2 separate regions of the Homo sapiens genome follow, and region 2 is linked to region 1. The links are contacts of gene promoters, found by promoter capture Hi-C in human tissues and cell types (Jung and others, 2019). All regions are on one chromosome and are shown on one strand. The core of a region is centred on a gene start or on the middle of the fragment in contact, and the rest is flanking DNA. Distances in the headings are between cores, read along the strand shown. Region 1 holds the start of INTS1 (integrator complex subunit 1). Region 2 holds the start of LFNG (LFNG O-fucosylpeptide 3-beta-N-acetylglucosaminyltransferase).

Evidence for each region. Contacts are between HindIII fragments. The study calls those that stand out against the background at their distance.
Region 2: the fragment with the promoter of LFNG here is called in contact with the fragment with the promoter of INTS1 in region 1 in 1 of the 25 tissues and cell types used here (lymphoblastoid cells).

The regions. Positions count from the first base shown.
Region 1 is chr7:1,500,172-1,506,639 of GRCh38, reverse strand. It overlaps INTS1 (integrator complex subunit 1), which reads left to right and starts at 2,251. Exons shown (of 48, transcript NM_001080453.3): 1 at 2,251-2,317; 2 at 2,639-2,737; 3 at 3,449-3,739; 4 at 6,274-6,468. The coding sequence starts at 2,680. RefSeq lists enhancers at 1-562, 748-937, 563-1,159 and a silencer at 2,046-2,605. The HindIII fragment of the contact is 17,901 bases long and covers 1-6,468 here.
Region 2 is chr7:2,518,524-2,523,904 of GRCh38, reverse strand. It overlaps LFNG (LFNG O-fucosylpeptide 3-beta-N-acetylglucosaminyltransferase), which reads right to left and starts at 4,131. Exons shown (of 8, transcript NM_001040167.2): 1 at 3,612-4,131. The coding sequence starts at 4,043. RefSeq lists enhancers at 416-928, 1,795-1,854, 1,895-2,024 and silencers at 3,956-4,065, 4,076-4,605. The HindIII fragment of the contact is 23,923 bases long and covers 1-5,381 here.

The sequences.
Region 1 (6,468 bases), core at 1,002-3,501:
GGAGGAGGGGGAGGGGAAGGAGGGGAGGGGGAGGGGGAGGAGGAGAGGAGGGGGGAGGGGGAGGAGGGGGAGAAGAAGGAAGGGGAGGAGGGGGAGGAGGAGGGGGAGGGGGAGGGGGAGGGGGAGGAGGAGGTAGTTGTTCTCAAGGTCGACCCTGAGGTTCTGGCCTGGGCCCGGGTGAGGGCATTTGCCGAAGGCACAGGCCCCGCATGCAGGGGCGGTGATGCTGGTCAGAGGATGAGGAGAGGCAGGTGGCGGGGCAGAGGAAGCTCTGTGCAGGGTGCTCCCATTCAGGTGACAGGAGGAGGAAGCATTACCCCATCGGATCTCCCCTCCCCTTAGAGAGTTACCCTGAGGGACAGATTGAGAAACTGTAGAGGGATGAAGCCGCACAGCCCCCGCCTGGCGTCCGGCAGGGATCCGCGCCTGACCGGCCTCTCCTCCCATGGGCACCACGGACGTCTCCTTCCGGACTCGCTGCCCACACAGCGCAGGGTGCAGGGCCCTGGAGCCCTTGGGGTCCTGCGGGGACCCAGCTGGTGCCCACAGGAGTGGAAAGAGACCGTGGCGGGTCACACAGCAGTTCTCAGGCTGCAGCCTGGGGCCATGAGCCTCACTGAGGCCACAGTCAAATGGCCACACCCAACTTCAGGGGCACAGGGAGACCAGCTCTGCCTTGCGGTCCCTGGATGAGGAGATGGGACACACCGGGCAGGCGGTGCTCAGGACTCCCTCGGTGGCGGGGCAGCGTTCGAGTCAGTGCCCTGCTGGGAACAGATCTCCAAGATGTGGTTAAGTGGCAAAAGCCAGGTGCAGAAAAGAGGAGCCGTGCGCTACCTGCAGGGTGACAAGGCAGAGGGAGGCACACGGGTGGCTGCCTGAACGCACACGGAAAAGCCGGGAACACAGGCACAAATCAGAACACAGGCTGACTCCAGGGGAGGGGACCAGCTGCTCAGGGGTCAGGGGAGACCTTCGACCCTTTGACTGGATGATTCCCCCACCTTTTATTTTTATTTTTTTTTAGACAGGGTCTCGCTCTGTCGGCCGGCTGCAGCGTAGTGGCACCATCATAGCTTACTGCAGCCTTGACCTCCCAAGCTGAAGAGATCCTCCTACCTCAGCCTCCTCAGTAGCTGGGACCGTAGGCATGCACCACCATGCCTGGCTAATTTATTCTTGATTTTTGTTTGTAGAGATAGGGTCTCACTATGTTGCCCAGGCTGGTCTCAGACTCCCACTTTGGCCTCCCAAAGGGCTGGGATTAGAGGTTCATGCCACCATGCCCAGCTAATTTTTATTTTTTTGTAGAGATGGGGGTCTTGCTATGTTGCTCAGGCTGGTCTCGAACTCAACCGATCCTCCTGCCTTGGTCTCCCAAAGTGCTGAGATTACAGGCATGAGCATCACACCTGGCAACTGTATGATCTTTTGTGTCTTTTGAGTTTTGTTCCCATCAGTGTTTCCATTAAAAAAAAAAAAAAAAAGGCGTGGGGGCGGGGCGGGCGCAGTAATTCCAGCACTTTGGGAGGCCAAGGCGGGCGGACCACCTGAGGTCAGGAGTTCGAGACCAGCCTGGCCAACATGGTGAAACCCCGTCTCTACTAAAAACACAAAAAAATTAGCCAGACATGGTGGCGGGCGCCTGTAATCCCAGCTACTCGGGAGACTGAGGCAGGAGAATCGCTTGAACCTGGGAGGTGGAGGTTGCAATAAGCCGAGGTCGCGCCACTGCATTCCAGCCTGGGCGACAGAGCGAGACTCCGTGCCAAAAAAAAAAAGAAAAAAGAAAAGGGTGAACTTTGTGGAACACGAGTTCTATCTCAATAAAGCTATTATTATTATTATTATTATTATTTGAGACAGGGTCTCTCCCCGGGAGCCCCCCGGGCTGCGCCCCCTCGCCAGTGCCTGCGCCCCGGCCGCCCCCGCTCTCCGGGACGTGCAGAACCTGCCACTTGACTCATCCGCGGATCCCTGACGCCACTCCTCCCCGCCGTGCGTCCTGGAGTGCGTCCCTTCGCAACGCCAGCACCACCTGTGAATGGAGAGGCCAGCGCCTGCCCCGCGCCGCCGACCCACCTGGACCGGACCACATGCGCGCGGCGCCGGCCAGCCCGCCTCCCGCCGCCATGGGGCGCTGCAGGCATCAGGCCGGCGCCGCGGGCCTCTCGCGCCTCCTTCTGGGCCCGCTTCCCGCCGCACTGTTTTCCTTCCGGTTGTTCCGGAAGTCGGGTCCTCGAGGGCGGTGAGATCGGTTTCCGATTCCGGGGTGGCCGGGTGGCGGCGGCGGCGCTCCGGTCGCGATGGGCCAGAGGTAAGTGAGCCGCGGCCTGGGCGCTTCCTCATTGCCGGGCGAGCGCCTGGTTCTCCCGGCTACCGCTCCCGGCCTCTGGGCCGTCCCTTCTGGTTCTGCCGCCTCCAGCCCGGCGTCCGCGTCGCCTGCTGCCGCCCGACTGAGCCGCTCCCGGGCGGCTGGGAGGCGGGGTCCCTGCAGCTCCTGCAGCATCGCCCCGCCGGGCGGGCGCGGGACCACTGTCCCCGGGTCCCAGGCCCAAGCCCCGTGCGGCAAGGGAGCGAATGAGCGAGCGAACGAGCGAATGAGTGAAGGAATGACCGCACGCTGGCTCCTCCGCAGGTGACGCCGCAGCCGCCGGGAGCCGCGAGGGACGGGGCAGGATGAACCGGGCCAAGCCCACCACGGTGCGCCGGCCCAGCGCCGCGGCCAAACCCTCAGGTGCGTCTCCCTCCTCGCTCTGCAGCCCGGGGGTCTTTGGGGGTCTTTGGGGGTCTTTGGGGATCTCAGCTGCCGCGGATCCTGCGTTGGGCTTGGTTGTTCCGCAGCCGCGGCTGTTTCCAGGAATTCGGTCTGGAAACACTGCTCTCGGTCCTCAGCGGCTCTGAGAGTCCCTGGGAGGCTTGGGACAGTGGCGACTTCCTTCGGGACCCCGGTGATCTCGTTTCAGGCTGAGCTGCAAGGCGGCCGACAGTAGCGGAAGGTCTCCCCAGCCAGGAGGCGGGAGGCAGCACAGTGTAGCGTAGCACGGGGTCTGCGGCTGAACTGTCGGCTCAGATCCTCCGGACTTTGCCACTCGCCTGCTGTGTGACGCTGGGCACGTCGCTTAACCTCTCTGTGTCCCTTTCTCTCTTGTAAAGTTAGAGTAATAGCACCTATTGCGGAAACTCGGGGCGGGGGTTACTAAGCACACTAATTTGGATAGACCAGAGATGGCCTGGTTTGTGGTTAGCGCTACGTGACTGTCCACCATCACCTGTGCGTATCCTGCTGGTCCCAGCTCTGCTGTAGGCTGCTGAGTGAGCTCTGGCTTCTTCCTTGCCTCCTCTGACCCTTGTTTAATCCCCTCTGACATAACAGGAGGTTAGAGTCAGTCTTTTTCCATCTTGGGTGTTGCAAATGTGCCCGGTTTTCTCTCTCCTTTCTCTGCAGGGCACCCTCCCCCAGGAGACTTCATTGCTCTGGGCTCAAAGGGTCAGGCCAATGAATCGAAAACGGCGTCCACCCTGCTGAAGCCAGCCCCTTCCGGCCTGCCTTCTGAGCGCAAGCGGGATGCGGCGGCCGCGTTGTCCAGTGCCTCGGCCCTCACCGGTCTCACCAAACGCCCCAAACTCTCCTCCACACCCCCTCTGAGTGCCCTGGGGCGCCTGGCTGAGGCTGCAGTGGCAGAAAAACGAGCCATTTCTCCGTCGATTAAAGAGCCATCTGTGGTGCCAATTGAAGGTAATGAGTCTGTGGACATCCCCCGAGAACACCCCTCAGCTCATGCCGTCCATCAGGTGTTCAGGGAAGGCCCCCTCCAGGCCTAGTGCTGCCCGTATGGCCGAGGTCCTTTGGGAGAGCGGATGTTTGTGGCTTGTTCTTGGAAGTGCTTCTCACGTAGATGCCCTTATCCCGTGTGTGCATCTGCGTCCTGCACTGCCAGTGGCTGCCCTTTGAGAACCGGGTCACTCCCTTATTGAGTTGTTTGTCTCATGTGTCTGTTGGACGCCCCCTTTGTGACGGGCACTGTCTGAGCCCTGGGGGTAAACCGGGCGTGACGACACCCCAGGTGTCTGTTCTCAAGGTTGCCCATCCTGGTGCGTTCCTCTCTCAACCTGAGCGGAGGCGATGTGTACTTGGTTCCTCCTTCCCTCCTGGTTACCAACAGAGAAGAGTTGATCCCCTCCCTGTTTTCAGTTGAAAAGCAGCAGAACAGTAAGGACATCAACGGGGGAATGTAAGCTTCACCACTGTCCCGTTCTCGCAGAAATGCCTTTAACTGTGTGCCTAGAATCGCCCCTGCCCCTCTGCGCCATTTTCCCAACGACCATTTCTCAAGGCTCCGTGACTCCCTGGGAGTCGCTCTGGCAGCTATCGCACCAGCCCCAGCAAGCCTCATGGTCTGCAGTGTTTTGTTTCTGTGGGAGCATCTCTTTTGGGTAATTTCTTTGTAGGAGTCAAAAAGAACAAGTGTCCTGATGACTTTGGTAGTGAGGTGTCTGTTCAAGCCGCGCCACCTCTGGTTACTGAGTTTTGTGCCAGACAGGACCCAGGGGACTTGTGGGCTGTGGCCTTGCCCTCAGGGAGGGACCAGGCTGCTGCAGTGCAAGCCTGTGAGTGAGTCCCCGACGGCCCTGGAAGGGAGGAGGCCTGGCAGGGAGTTGCAGTATGGGCTTGGGCCTGGAAGCACAGGCGATGAAACCGGGGCAGGCAGGAAAGGGAGATGCCAAGCAGAGAATGGACTGTGCCCAGGGAATGGAGGCCTGGCCTGGCCTGGGCAGCACACGCTCATGAGAGCTGAGGCTGGGCGCTGTGGGCAGTGTTTGTGCTGGACTCAGTTGGCATCAGGGAGCCCTGGGGGCAAACGGCCCAGGATGGCACAGCTGGGGGACTGCTTTAGGAGGTCGAGCCTCAGACCTCCCATGAGGCGTGTCCCTGGGCAGCTGGTGCCGGTGGGGATTGAAGACAGAGACCACAGGCCTCATCCTGGCCCGGGCTCTCGGCCGCCGGCGGCTCGGTGCTTTATTTATCTTTAGCACTACCTCCTGTAGAAAGGAGGTTTTGAAGATGAGAGGAGACGTGGTTATGAAAAGCGTATTCTGAGTGGTAGATCACTTTATAGTATTATTCTCAGCAAAACAGAGAGATGGCTGCATCCAGCCATTTGTGGTAAATGTCCCAGGCTGTCCCTCCATGCTGGCAGCCCACTTGTCCCCCAGCTTGTCTCGGCATCAGGAAATTTATTCCAAGTCTCTGTCCCGGGCGCAGTTAAGGTAGATCACAATGCCTCTGTCCACATGTGTGTGGATATGTATTTACTTATTATTTATTATTTATTTATTTATTTATTTTTTTTTGAGACAGAGTCTCGCTGTGTTCCCCAGGCTGGAATGCAGTGGCACGATCTCGGCTCACTTCAGCCTCCGCCTCCCGGGTTCACATGATTCTCCTGCCTTAGCCTCCCAAGCAGCTGGGATTACAGGCATGCACCACCACGCCTGGCTAATTTGTGTATTTCTAGTAGAGACAGGGTTTCACTGTATTGGCCAGGCTGGTCTCGATTTCCTGACCTCAGGTGATCCACCTGCCTCAGCCTCCCAAAGTGGTGGGATTACAGGTGCTAGCCACTGCACCTGGCCGTTTGTGGATATTTAAAAACACAGTCCTAAAAAACTGTTGGGACAGAGAAGAATCAGAATGAAAATGAGAAAACCTCCGATCCAACAGTGGCAAACACGACGATAGGAAAGGTGTGTGCTGGCCCTGGTGCTCCTCAGAGGATGTGGGAGGGTCAGGCACTCGTCTGGAGGAAGGTTGTGAGCCGAGCACCCATGGAAAGAGGGAGGAAAAGTGGGAAGAAGGGCATGCTGGAGACTGGAGCTGGGGTGGGTGCGGAGAGAGGGCCACTGTGCTGCGGTCCACAGTGAGAAAGAAGCCGCCAGACGGAGCCACGATTCAGTGGAAAGTAAAGCTGCAGGTGGCCTGGCTTGCTGGGAAATGTCTGTAGCCTTTGGGGTAGTCGTGTGGGACACAGCGGAGCCAGGACTGGAGTGGCTGGTGGGCTAGTGCTGAGGCCTGTGGGGCAGCCTGTTGTATTAAGGGGACCATCTGGTGGGGTGCTTGTCCGCTGTGGGAACTTTGCTGAGGGTGGATCGCTGGTCCCTGGCAGGGCCGACCCTGAGAGCTCTGGGTTCCTCGTGGTCTTCCCGGTGTCCCGAGGCTTTGGGGTGACCCTGCCCTGGCCCCGTTCTGACCGTACCGCCTGCCCCGGCCAGTGCTGCCCACGGTGCTGCTGGATGAGATCGAGGCGGCCGAGCTGGAGGGCAACGATGACAGGATCGAGGGCGTGCTGTGCGGGGCCGTGAAGCAGCTGAAGGTCACCCGCGCCAAGCCTGACAGCACCCTCTACCTGAGCCTCATGTACCTGGCCAAGATCAAGCCCAACATCTTCGCCACTGAGGGCGTCATTG
Region 2 (5,381 bases), core at 2,882-5,381, 1.0 Mb before region 1:
TGCAGGACAAGCTACCCACTCTGAGCCAAAGCAGCCCTGAAGTTCTGCAAAGTTGCCAACGGTCAGCAGGGTTGTGGCAGGAAACCTCAGGTGTCCCCAGCCCCCAGGTCAGGGGCCCCCAGTACCCATGCAGCCCAGCACCCCTCCCACTGCTCAGGCAAGGAAACCCAGGCTTGCCCAAGGCCACAGCCCACCTGTGCCAGCACGCGGCCGCCCCCTGCCAGGAGCGCTCTGCGGAAGAGGAGGGGGCCGCCAGGGCGGGGCCAGGAGTCGCCGGCGCCCGCCTGGGCCTGCCGGCACACGGGGAGGAATGTTCCTTCCTCTGCCCGGCCCGCCCAGCGCGTGCCGCCCGGCGCACCCTGGCATGGCTGAGTGCAAAACCCAGGGTGTACGGGCAATGCTCTGACCAAGGGACAACCCCCTGATGCCCACCCAGCCTCAGTTTCCTTCCCTGTACACACAGGTCCCGCAGAGGCCCTGGAACACCTTGGTAGTCTCAGATCCTTATCCAGCCTGACCCAGCCCTGGGCACATGCTCACTAGGGTGAGGCCCAGAGCTAAGGGGGTGGCAGGCTGGGTCTCCGCCTCTCCATGCATGCACCCCTCCTGCAGCACCCATAGACACCCCAGGGCAGCCACACGCACAGACTCGCACCCAGCCCCTTGGCCTCCCCAGAATCTCAGCCCAGGAATGCCGTGGGAGGCGGAGGGCCAGCCCCTGCAGACGCTCCACTGCGCCGCTGGGTTAAAAGGAAAATGCTTTCTTAATGAGATCAAGGGAGGCCTGTTCTCCCGAGATTTGGTGGTGCCCTAAAAACCCAGCCCAAGGCTACGGAGATTAAAGTCACCTTTGTTCAGCTCAGGGAGCAGGGAGGCCTCTAGAACAGCATCTGAGAAGGCGGGGCTATGGGGTGCGGGGGTGCCGGTCGAACTGTCTCCCGACACCTGAGCCACCAGGAGGGGAGGAAAAAGGCGCTGCTGGGCTATAGGCCTCACCTGCCGCTCAGAGCCTCAGTCTCGTCTTCAGTAAAATGGGCATAACAGAGCTCCCCTGGGCAGAGAACAAAGTGCAAAGACAGATTCTCTCCCTTCCTCTCCCTGACAGCCCTCGGAGGTGGGTGCCATTACCAGCTGAGGCCCAAGTGGGGAAACTGAGGCCCAGAGAGGTGCAGGCACCAGCCTGAGGTCATACCCTGGGGCCGAGGCGGTGCTAGACCAGCCCAGTCCCTGCCTTCTAGGGACCCAGACCCCCCAGTGCCACCTAACTTTCCAGACGAAGACGGGGCTGCAGGAGGAAGAGCCGGGTGGATGAGGGTGGACGGGGGCGGGGGCCGGGGGACACCCACAGGAAGCAGCATTGTTCCTGGAGCCGCGATTCAAAGAAACACAGGATGCCAAGTTCTCCCCAGCAATTGTGGCCGCTGTGGTGGCAGCGCGGCAGCCTGGCTGCTCCTGGGAGGGGCGGGGAACCTCTGGGCCAAAGGCCAGGCTCTTCATCCTGGACTCCAGGCCCATCTCAGCGCGGCCCCTGCTGACCAACCGACCCTCCCCCCAGCCACCACTCCAGTTGCTAGAAGTTTCCTGCACAACCCCCATGCTGTGGTCATCACCATGCCCGGATGGAGTGCCCTTTCTGGGCACTTTTTTACTCTTAGTCTAGCTCAAATGGCGCCTCCTCCAGGAAGTCTTCCCTCCTCCCTCCCTTCCCCCAGCATGTGGGTCAGATGCCCACTGTTGCCTCACACAGCCTCTCGGGGTTTTCCCCCCGCACAGCCCTGACATCTTTCTATCTCCCCCATCAGACCATGTCTGAGTCATTCCGTGCAGGGCTGGGAGAGGGGGGCCCTCTTCTGTGGGTTTCCAGGACCCCTGCCCATCACCCACCACAAGGGGGTCTTTGCTTGCTGTGTGCTGGTGAACTGATGCTGAGGGCAGATTCAACCTGTCCCCTGGTGGGGTGACCCTCCAGTAGGGACCTCAGGGCTCAAGGGAGTGATGGCCCCCACCTCGACCCTGAGTGCCCGCCGGGTTCACCCCATGCCTGCAGGCTTTGCCAGTCTCTTACAACGTGCTCCTGGAAGGACCATGTTCCCCCATTTCAGAGATCAGAGTGAGGGTCTGAGAGGCCCCAGGTCTTGCTCAGGATCACACAGCCCAGCCCTCTGACCACATCCCCTCTGTTGGAGAAAGGCCCCAAATTCCAAGATGAGAGGTGCTCAGAGCTGGTGGTAGCCCAGAGTGGGGCTGAAGGATGCCCAAGATCACATAGCAGTAAGGCTTGAGTGCTGGGGGTGGGGGGGCCAGGCTCAGGGATGGTGCCCCAAAAGGACTGTCAGTAAGAGATGCTGGGGGGGCCCGCTGGTCCCCTCATCGCCAGGCAACCTGAGTGGCCAGCACGCCAGCAGCGGTTCCCACGGAGCGCGTAGCTGCACACAAGGGGCCCGACGCCTTTCTCGCTGGAGAAAGGGGCTTTGTTACCTTGCCCAAGGGGCCGGCGTGAGAGCCGCCCGGCGCTGGGAATCCTAACGGCCCGGCCGCCAAACAAAACCCACGGCCCCCGCCGCCCCCTCCCGCCAGCCCGCTGAGCCCCTGGGAATGGGACGCTGTGTTCCCAGGAGGCTGCCATGGGGTTCCCAGGGCCCCTTCCCCACGCCAGGACCAGGGAGGACCCTGCCCCTCCCCGTCGCCCTCATGACCTCACCAAGCCCTGCTCCCACCCACCCACAGTGCCCCAAAACAGGACAGCGCCAGGTCAGAAGGCCCTGGGTCTCCGGGGTTTGAGCAGGGAGGAAGGCGTGCAGGGTCTTCCCTGAGCCCCCACCCTCACAGCAAATGCCTCTGCATCTCCCAGCCCAGAGACACCCCCCCAGTCCCCGACTGCAAGCCCCACACACTGTCCCCATCCCGCCCCAGCCCAACCGTCCTGCTGTGGCCTCGAGGGAAATGTTCAAAGTGGGGTGTGTCTTAATTATGTGTGTGTAAGAAGCTGATGCCCAACTGAAGTGGGCTGTGCCCAAGGTTGCAGGCCTCAGAGACTACTGCACTGTGCGGGGAGGGTCCCCACACAGACCCCAAAACCTGGAGTTCTTTGAGATGTACTCCCCAGGACCCACCAACCAGCAATGACTTCCCTCCCTCCCCGTACCTTAACACTGTGATGAGGAAAGGGCCCAGAGGTCAGAACCCCTCACTTCTCTAAAGGAAGAGCCTTTCTCCCCAGGAAGGGGTCTGAGCTGAGGGTGGGTCCGAACAGAATTTGCTTGTGGAAGTTTGAGGACATAATGCCCTATGAATGCGCTCCAATGTTTACGGGGTGAGAAGTATCACAGGGCACCAACCCCAAGCACTGGAGACTGGTGTAGGGTCCTGCAGCCATCCAGGACTCTGGAGCTGGACAGGAGGCGGGGCCCCGGGGACAGTAACACAACTGTAACGGGAGAGTGGCCCCAGCAGGCAAACTGGGTGCACCGGGGTGCACTGGCGTCGCCCACAGATGGCCCTAGTGGCTGGATGGGGATGCAGCCTGACTCCCATGGGACACTGCCACCAGCTGGACCAGATGGTGGGTCCCCGCCCCGCTCGCCCGCCAGTCCAGGCCGCGGGGGGCTCACCATCTCCTTGTGGCGCGAGATCCAGGTCTCCAGCAGCAGGTCGAGGCGCGCGCGGTGGAACTTTTTGGTGGTCTTGACAGCGATGAAGACGTCTCGGGGCGCGAGCGGCTCGGCCAGGGGGCGCGGGTGGCCGTCGGCGGGGCGGGGGGCAGCCCCGGGCGGCGGGCCCGCATCTCTGCGCGCGCGGGTGAGCAGGCTGAAGTACTCGGACAGACTGTGCACGTCGCGGACCAGCGCCCCGGGCGCCGCCGCCGCCGCCCCCAGCCCGGGCGCCGGGGCAGCCCCCGCGGGGCCCGCCAGGCTGCGCAGCGCGCGCCGGCCGCGCTCGGCGGGCAGTGGAGGCGGCGGCGGGTCGGCGGTGAGCACCAGCAGGCAGGCGAGCAGCGCGCCCGCCAGCGCCAGCAGCAGGCGCCGGCCGCAGCGCTTGAGCATGGTGGGGTGGCGGCCGCGCGGCGCGCCCTTCCCCGTGCGCCTGCCTTGCACCGACCCGAAGCCCGTCGCTCCGGCGGCGCAGTCCAGCAGCGCAGCACCAGTGTCCCGCGCTCTTAAACCTCCCCGCCCCGGTCCCGCCCCCGTGCGCTCATTGGCTCCCGGGCTCGGGGGCGGGGCCTCGCGCCGGTCGCCGCTCCACGCCCGCAGACCCACGTGGGGCCGCGGCTGGGGGCTGGGAACTGCCCAGAGGGCGCAGCGGCCCCGCCCCCGGCGCGCACGTGCACGCCCCGCACCCCCCCCGCCCCGGGTAGCCCCTGCGGGCCGCCGAGGGGCTTGGGGACGGGCCCGGCCCGCGCCGGTGTCCCTGAAGAGGAAACCCAGCCTGGCCAGCGCCGTCCGGGGATGCACCGGGCGTCCCGGCACGGGAGGGGCGCGCCCTCGGCGCAGCGGGCAGGGTGCTGAGACCCGGGCTCTGGGCTCCGACGCACCGCGGGGGACATCCTACTTCCTCGCTGTGCGCTTCCCCTCCTGAGCACGGCTTCCTCCCCTTGGGACGCGGCAGGCCTTGCAAACTGGGGTGGCGCCTGGGTCTTCCCGAGCGCTCGGTTCAGGGGAGCCGTTATTTGTACAGAGCAAGAGCTTGGCCACCTGTGCCGCAGGTGGGGACACGAGGTTCTAACGAGAAAGCACCAGAACCAAATTCCACTCCTTCCTCCCTGGCTGATTTCCTCGATCCTGGCCCTCCGTCGGGAGGGTTGGCTCCCCGAAATCCTCAGGCGCCCCATGGCGAGGAGAAACGAAGGCCGCCACTTCCCTCGCCGGATGAAAGGCCGCCTTCTGTCCCATTTGGTCTCCTTGCGCTCGGGCCAGATGCGGCCCAGCTGTGCGCCCTCCCCACCCCGCCTCCCCGGCACACGGCCCCCATCCCCGGCCCTTCCCACGGGCCCGGGCCCGCCCCTCGCACGAGCGGGGGCGGCAGGAATGCGCGCCGGCAGCCGAGGGTGAGGGGCGAGGGGCCCGGAAGTGGCCAAGGGTCGCCTGAGCAGGGTGTGAGCCCCCTGCCCGCCACGTCCTCCGGAAGCGTGGACGGAGGCGGCTCTGCCCGTGGCTGCGCTGTCTTCCCGTGCCCTCCTAAGCAGGGTCTCTGCGACCACCACGACCACCACCGCCACCACCGTGGCTAAACTGCCCCCCTCGGAGTTATGTTCACGCCTGAGATGGCATTTTAAATTCTTTAAGTGCCCTTGGAGCCCCTCTCCTTACCTCTACCTGAATGTCAGCCGCAAGACAGCAGCGACCTGGTGTCATTCAGACCTGGAACAGGTTTTGGGACATAGT